2 separate regions of the Homo sapiens genome follow, and region 1 is linked to region 2. The links are contacts of gene promoters, found by promoter capture Hi-C in human tissues and cell types (Jung and others, 2019). All regions are on one chromosome and are shown on one strand. The core of a region is centred on a gene start or on the middle of the fragment in contact, and the rest is flanking DNA. Distances in the headings are between cores, read along the strand shown. Region 1 overlaps ZNF623 (zinc finger protein 623). Region 2 holds the start of SCRIB (scribble planar cell polarity protein).

What was found. The method cuts DNA at HindIII sites, captures the fragments that hold promoters and counts their contacts. A contact is called where the count stands out against the background at its distance.
Region 1: a contact is called between a fragment that was not itself captured here and the fragment with the promoter of SCRIB in region 2, in 1 of the 25 tissues and cell types used here (H1 embryonic stem cells).

The regions. Positions count from the first base shown.
Region 1 is chr8:143,652,256-143,655,906 of GRCh38, reverse strand. ZNF623 (zinc finger protein 623) reads right to left here. Exons shown (of 2, transcript NM_001261843.2): 2 at 2,177-3,651. Among named protein-coding and RNA genes, the nearest start is that of ZNF623, 18 kb to the right of the region's middle. The HindIII fragment of the contact is 4,456 bases long and covers 1-3,651 here.
Region 2 is chr8:143,813,948-143,817,570 of GRCh38, reverse strand. SCRIB (scribble planar cell polarity protein) reads left to right here and starts at 1,798. Exons shown (of 37, transcript NM_182706.5): 1 at 1,798-2,357; 2 at 3,453-3,570. The coding sequence starts at 2,199. PUF60 (poly(U) binding splicing factor 60) reads left to right here. Exons shown (of 12, transcript NM_078480.3): 10 at 105-240; 11 at 426-661; 12 at 752-1,227. The coding sequence ends at 1,051. RefSeq lists enhancers at 1,206-1,838, 1,839-2,471, 2,756-3,420. The HindIII fragment of the contact is 41,605 bases long and covers 1-3,623 here.

The DNA.
Region 1 (3,651 bases), core at 829-3,328, 160 kb after region 2:
GTAGCTGGGATTCTACAGGCGCCTGCCACCACGCCTGGCTAATTTTTTTGTATTTTTAGTAGAGATGGGGTTTCACCATCTTGGCCAGGCTGGTTTTGAACTCCTGACCTCAAGTGATCCGCCTGCCTCGGCCTCCCAAAGTGCTGGGATTATACAGGCATGAGCCACGGGCCTGGCCTGAAGTTGATAGAAGTTGACTTCAAATTTTATACGAAAATGCAAAGGATCTAGAAGTCAAAAAAAAAAAAATGGGAAAAGAACAAAACGGAAGCCCTTCCAATACCTGAGTTCAACTACAGTTGGCCAGGAGTGGTGGCTCACACCTGTAATCCCTTTGGGAGGCTGAGGCAGGAGGATCCCTTGAGGCCAGGAGTTCAAGACCAGCCTGGTCAACATAGTGAGACCCCCATCTCTACAAAAAAATATAAAAAATTAGCAAGATGTGGTGATGCATGCCTACAGTCCCAACTACTTGGGAGGCTAAGGAAAGAGGCTCACTTGAGCCCGGATGTTCGAGGTTACATTAGCTGTGATTGTGCCACTACGCTCCAGCCTGGGCAACAGAATGAGATTTCTGCCTCAAATAAAACTACAGTAATCAATATAGTGTCATATTGGTGTAAAGTTATACACACAAGAAGAATGGTGTCCAGAACAGACCACTTCTATGTCACTTCAGTTTTTACAAACCTGTGAAGACTTGGTCATTGGGAAAGTAGAGTCTCAACAAATAGAACCGAACCAACCAACCACACAGATAAAAAAGTGAATCTTGACCCTTATCACATATGGTACACAAAAATGAACTCAAAATGGATCACAGACTTAAATGTAAAAGGTAAAACTATAAAAGTTCCATAAAAATAAAAAACATAGGAAAAAATCATGTCCTTTGAGTAGGCAAATTTCTTAAACTCAAATTATTATAAAATATCATAAATCATTATTATTATTATCTTGGTTTACTGCAACCTCTGCCTCCTGGGTTCAAGTGATTCTCCTGCCTCAGCCTCCCGAGTAGCAGGGACTACAGGGGTGTGCCACCCGCCCAGATAATTTTTGTATTTTTAGTAGAGACGGGGTTTCACCACGTTGGCCAGGCTGGTCTCAAACTTCTGGCCTCAGGTGATCTGCCTACCTTGGCCTCCCAAAGTGCTGGGATTACAGACATGAGCCACCACACCCAAATCTTTGATAAATTAGGCTTAATAAAAAATATTCAAAAGACACCATTAAGAAAATGAACAGGCAAACCAAACATGAAAATATTCACAATATTTGTCACAAATGGAGACAAAGAATTCTATATATTACATGTATGTTTTTCATGCAGAATATGGAAAGAACTTGAGTCAACAATAAGCATCCCAACTTAAAAACAGGCAAAAGGCACGAACAGACACATCACAAAAGACGACACGGAAAAGCAATAAGCAGATGAAATCATAGACATACATTATTCAGTGGGCAAATACAAATTAAAATCATAAGGAGGCTAGAGTGGATTAAATTTTAAGAGACTGACAATGCCAAGTGTTAGCAAAGATATGGAGCAACTGGAATCTTCCCATAATGTAGTAATAGTGTAAAATGATTCAACCACTACAGAGGGCTGTGTGACAATTTCTTAGGAAGTTAGAAACACGTATTGCAATGGACTGAATGTTTACATCCTTGCACAATTCATGTCAAATTCCTAACCCATAAGATGATATGAGGTGGGGTCTTGGGGAGGGGACAGAATCACAAGGGGAGAGCCCTCATGAATGGGGTAAGCTTGCTAGTCCCTTTCCACCACGTGCAGTCACAGTAAAAAGACATCTACTTAAAAGGAAGCAGGCCCTCACTAGACACCAAATGTTGACACCCTCATCTTGGACTTCCCAGCCTCCAGAACTGTAAAACATAAATTTCTGTTGTTTATAAGCCTCCCAGTTGATGGTATTTTGTTATGGCAGCCTGAATGAACTAAGACACTTACAACACAGCAATTAAAGTCCTAGGTACTTACCCAAGAGAAATAAAAACACATGTGCAAATACATACTTTTACACAAATGCTCATAGTTTTAAGAGCCGAGACTGGAAACCCATTAACACATGGATGAATAAACAAATGATGGCTTATCCACACAATGGAATACTATTCAGCAAGGAGAACTACTGAAACACAAAACAGCTTGGATGAGTCTAAAAACATGCCAAAGTGAGACATCAGACGCAAAAGAACACATAGTAAATGAATCCATTTGTATGAGGCTCTAAACCAAGCAACACTAATCTATGAGGATAGAAAGTGGTTATCTGGGGCTGGAGTGGGCTTAACTAGGAAAAGGCAAAAGGGAACTTCTTTGGGTGACAGAAACGTTTTTGGTTCTGGCGGTGGTGGTTACACAGGTGGTGGTGGTTACACAGGTGTATAGATTTTTCAAAACCTTGTACACTTAAATAGGCGTTTTACTATATGAAAATTGAATCTCAATAAAGTTGATTAAAATGGTCTGGTAAAATCTACATTTGAAACATCTCTAGTAATGCTGATTTTCCAGAAAATGTAGATCTCTTTTTTGAATTATTTGTCCTGAGACGTTCAGGGTTGGTAGTATTTAAGAACTCAAAATATGGCCTCATGAGAAAAAAATTATATCGTTACAAAACTGGACTTTGGGGTTCATGTCCAGATGAAATTCAGAGGTAAAGACTAACAGTTTGGCGAGGCGGCTGTCCACTGTCCATTTACCTCGCCTGCTTTCGAACAGTCCTAGCCAAAAAGCCATCTGTCATGGCTCCATGTTTCTGCAGATTCCTCTCCTGGACCCTATTTTCTTCTTCAGCTGCTCTCTACTGATCTCTGGCCCAGCTGAAATGTCACCTCTTCTGTAAGGCCTTCCCAGCTCTGTGCCACAGCAGGCACCCCCTCACCTGTGCTCCTTCACACCTGAGGGCACATACTTAACTCACCCTACTGTGATCTCCGTCTTCCCCACTACACGGTGGATGACTTCAGGGTAGTGGGTTGCTCATCTGTTTTCCCAACATTGAGGACTATTCCTTATAGATATCAATACATTTTGAAATGACACAATGAGCCAGAGAGCATGGAAAATGACAAGAGCTCAGTTCAACCTCAGAACTGCTACAACAGAAGAGTTACGTAGCGCATTGAGACTGTGCCTTTCGAGTGAGACAGAAAGATACAGACAAGTAAGTAAAGACCTTCTCTTGAGACCTGCCTCCTCCTGTCCCCACTGTTCCAGCTGAGCCAGGTGTCAATGCCCTCCAGATCAAGTAGACAGTTCTGCATGAGCTGTAAGGTGGCACACAGGAGGGCGTGGATGTGCACAGGATATTGCCTGCAACTTCTAAGTAGGAGCAGCAGACAGTAGCAGGGCTGAGAAGATACTTCTAACAGAATCGTAGATTATACTGATACAAAATGAACAAACAACAAAAAAAACAGCCAACAGCTGAAAATTTTTAGAATGGCAGTATAGAAAGGACAAAGCAAGAGAGATGCCAATTACACATAGATTTAGGGGTGTATTTTTTATTGCCCTGTGCTAGACAGTGGACACATGGAAATCAATCAGATATGATCACTGTCCTCAGGAACCCAACAGCATAGTGACAGAGATAGTCTATCACATCATTC
Region 2 (3,623 bases), core at 549-3,048:
GGCTTGAGGGTGGGCGGGCTGGCCCCTGATTCCTTGGAGACTGATTCAAGGTGGTCTTGAGTAGCCAGACCAGGGACTGAGCACGGTGACCTTTTGGGTTGCAGGAAGCAGTGGCCGGAGCAGCGGTGCTGGGTACCCTGGGCACACCTGGACTGGTGTCCCCAGCACTGACCCTGGCCCAGCCCCTGGGCACTTTGCCCCAGGCTGTCATGGCTGCCCAGGCACCTGGAGTCATCACAGGTGAGTCTTAAGTGGTACCAGATCCTCTCCTCTCCTGTCCTGGCATCTCTCGGCTCGCTGCCCTCAGCTGCCTGGCCCTGGTGGTCTGGGCACAACCCTCTGAGCCCAGGGCAGGCCAGCTCTGTGCCTTTCTGGGAAGGGGGGTGGTAGGGAGTGACTGATGGACCTGGTTGGTTTTCCTGCAGGTGTGACCCCAGCCCGTCCTCCTATCCCGGTCACCATCCCCTCGGTGGGAGTGGTGAACCCCATCCTGGCCAGCCCTCCAACGCTGGGTCTCCTGGAGCCCAAGAAGGAGAAGGAAGAAGAGGAGCTGTTTCCCGAGTCAGAGCGGCCAGAGATGCTGAGCGAGCAGGAGCACATGAGCATCTCGGGCAGTAGCGCCCGACACATGGTGATGCAGAAGCTGCTCCGCAAGCAGGAGGTAGGCAGAGGGGCAGGGTGGTGGCGGGGGAGAGGGTAGGGGGGCGGGGCCGCAGTGCTCAGCTGTCTTCCCCTCGGCCCTGCCCCACAGTCTACAGTGATGGTTCTGCGCAACATGGTGGACCCCAAGGACATCGATGATGACCTGGAAGGGGAGGTGACAGAGGAGTGTGGCAAGTTCGGGGCCGTGAACCGCGTCATCATCTACCAAGAGAAACAAGGCGAGGAGGAGGATGCAGAAATCATTGTCAAGATCTTTGTGGAGTTTTCCATAGCCTCTGAGACTCATAAGGCCATCCAGGCCCTCAATGGCCGCTGGTTTGCTGGCCGCAAGGTGGTGGCTGAAGTGTACGACCAGGAGCGTTTTGATAACAGTGACCTCTCTGCGTGACAGTGGTCCCTCTCCCCGGACTTGCACTTGTTCCTTGTTTCCTCTGGGTTTTATAGTGATACAGTGGTGTCCCCGGGGCCAGGCGCGCTCTGCCCAGCCCAGCCTACAGTGCGGATAAAGGTGCGGATGCTGCTGGCCCTGAACGTCCGTGTGTCTGCCGTCGGTCCTGTCACCGATCCTGGGCGTGTGTCCTTAGGGGGTCTAGGGCGAGGAGGCAGGGTTGGGGGGGTCTCTGGACCTGCTTCCTGTTGGCAGGAGGGGCCTGCCGTGGGCGAGACCTGGGCAGGGGGTTGGCGCCCCGGGCCCCGTCCCGCGGGTGGCGGCGGCTGGGTGGGCGGGGCTGCCTGGGGCGCCAGGCTCTCGCGCGCGGGCTCGCAGCCGTCCCCGCAGGGTGGTGCTGAGAGAAGGCTGGGCACCGGGACACCGCGACCCGCTGGACAGCGCGCGCTGCCAGTGCTTTTGTGCCGCAGAGCCGGCCGTCCAAGGCGGGCGGGCGGGCATGGTCGCTTCCCGGGAGGAGGCTGTGCGTTAAGATTCGTGGCCAAATGCCGCGGGGCCAGGGGCCGGGCTGAAGACCGGAGGGCGGAGGGCGCCGCCTCTCGTGGATTGTAGCTCCCAATATCCCGCGCGCGGGGCGGGCCCGGCTTCCCGGCACGCTTTGCGCGGTGCCGCTACGGGTCCTCAGAGGCGGCGGCGCGCGGGGCCTTCTGGGGGCCGCAGTCCGGGCGTGCTAGGCGGCGAGGGCCGGACTCGGCTTCCCGACGGGCTGCGCGGCGGCCGGGTGGGTGTCGGCGGGGCAGTCCGGCGGGCAGCGGCGGTTCCGGTGCGGCACAGCGGGCGGACGAGCGGGCGGGACGAGCTGAGCAGGACCAAGCGGGATGCGGAGCCGCCGCCGCCGCCGCTCCCCGCGCTTCCTAAGAGTCTGAGACCCGCCGGGCCGCGCCCCCTGCCCAGGCCCGCAGTCCGAGCGTTCCGAGCGCGGGCCGGGCCCAGCGCCGGCCGCGGCCGCGTCCCCGTCCAGTCTCGGGCGGCCCGCCCCCTGCCTGCGCCCCCTCCCCATGCGCGGCGCCCATGCGGACTGAGCCCCGCCCCCCGGCCCCGAGCCCGCCGAGCGCCGCCGCCGGAGCCCGCGCCGCCCACCCGCACCATGCTCAAGTGCATCCCGCTGTGGCGCTGCAACCGGCACGTGGAGTCGGTGGACAAGCGGCACTGTTCGCTGCAGGCCGTGCCGGAGGAGATCTACCGCTACAGCCGCAGCCTGGAGGAGCTGCTGCTCGACGCCAACCAGCTGCGCGAGCTGCCCAAGGTGAGCGGCCGCCCGCACCTGCCGCCCAAAGGCGCGCCCCCAGCCCGTGATTCCTCCGGCGGCAGAATCTGCCCGGGCGAGTCACCGCAGCCTCCAGCCGGCCCTGCTGGTTTGCACTGGCCAGGTCCCCACCCCAGCCAGCCCCACCCTTCTCTTCCAGCCGCCCTGGCTGGCGCAGGTGGCAGCGGTCATCAGGTGCTTGCCTGGGGATAGCGATTGTCACCGAGCCTGGAGGCGGAGCCTCAGAGTGAAACCCGTGGGGATTCAGGGAGGTGGATGGGGTTAGGGTGGAACTTGGATTCAGGTGGCTGATGAGTACTAGCTTCTTGGGCCGCTCTGGAGGTGGGTCCAGACCTCCTCTCCTTTTTTGCTGGGTGCAGGGGTGAGTGGGGGAGCCCTCTTGATGTACTCTTTGCTCTCGGATCTGTTCGCTGTCCCCCTTTCTTTACCCTTGCTTCTCGTGGTCAGGTGCTCTCCTAAGGCTGCTACAAGAAAGGAGGCTGGAGAAAGCAGATTAAAAAGTATTTCTTTTCTGGAGATGGGGTGCTGGGTGATCAGTACCTAGGGGTTGGGTGTCCCAAAGAATGTGACCCTGTTCTGGCCGTGGCAGTGACAGCTCGGTCCTCTGTGGCCACCTGCAGGCCTCGCGCGTAGCACTGTGCCTGTGGTACTGTGTTATTGTGGGGAGCGTTTACTGAGTTCTTGCTGCAGAACCAGGCCAGGCTTGTTGTCAGGATGCAGTAGCAGAGGCCAGTGTGGGCCCCTGGAGGGTGGCAGAAGTGGTTCAGGGGCTGGGTGGGCCCTGAGGTAAGACACAGGGTAGGGGATTGGGGCTTTGTCTGGTCGCCAGCAGGTGTCTTCTCAGAGTGGAGGCTGGTGTGAAGAGTAGAGGGAGGCAGCCACAGTGGGCGTGTGTACCGTGTGTTTCTTTCCTTTTTTTGCAAATGGGGTGTCGTGGTTAGACCCCAGGACCCGGTGTGACCTGGAGCAGACAGAGGCCTAGGGACTCTTGACTTGTGACACTCACGTGTCCAGGAGCTCTTCTCTGCTCTGCAGTGGTCTCTGCCACAGAGTCCGTGTCCTCCCTGCCCACAGCCTTTTTTCCGGCTGCTGAACTTGCGCAAGCTGGGCCTGAGCGACAACGAGATCCAGCGGTTGCCTCCCGAGGTGGCCAACTTCATGCAGCTGGTGGAGCTGGACGTGTCCCGGAACGGTGGGGAGCCTGGGCAGGGGCTGGGTGGGGTCTGGGGAGTGTCCGCTGGGGCT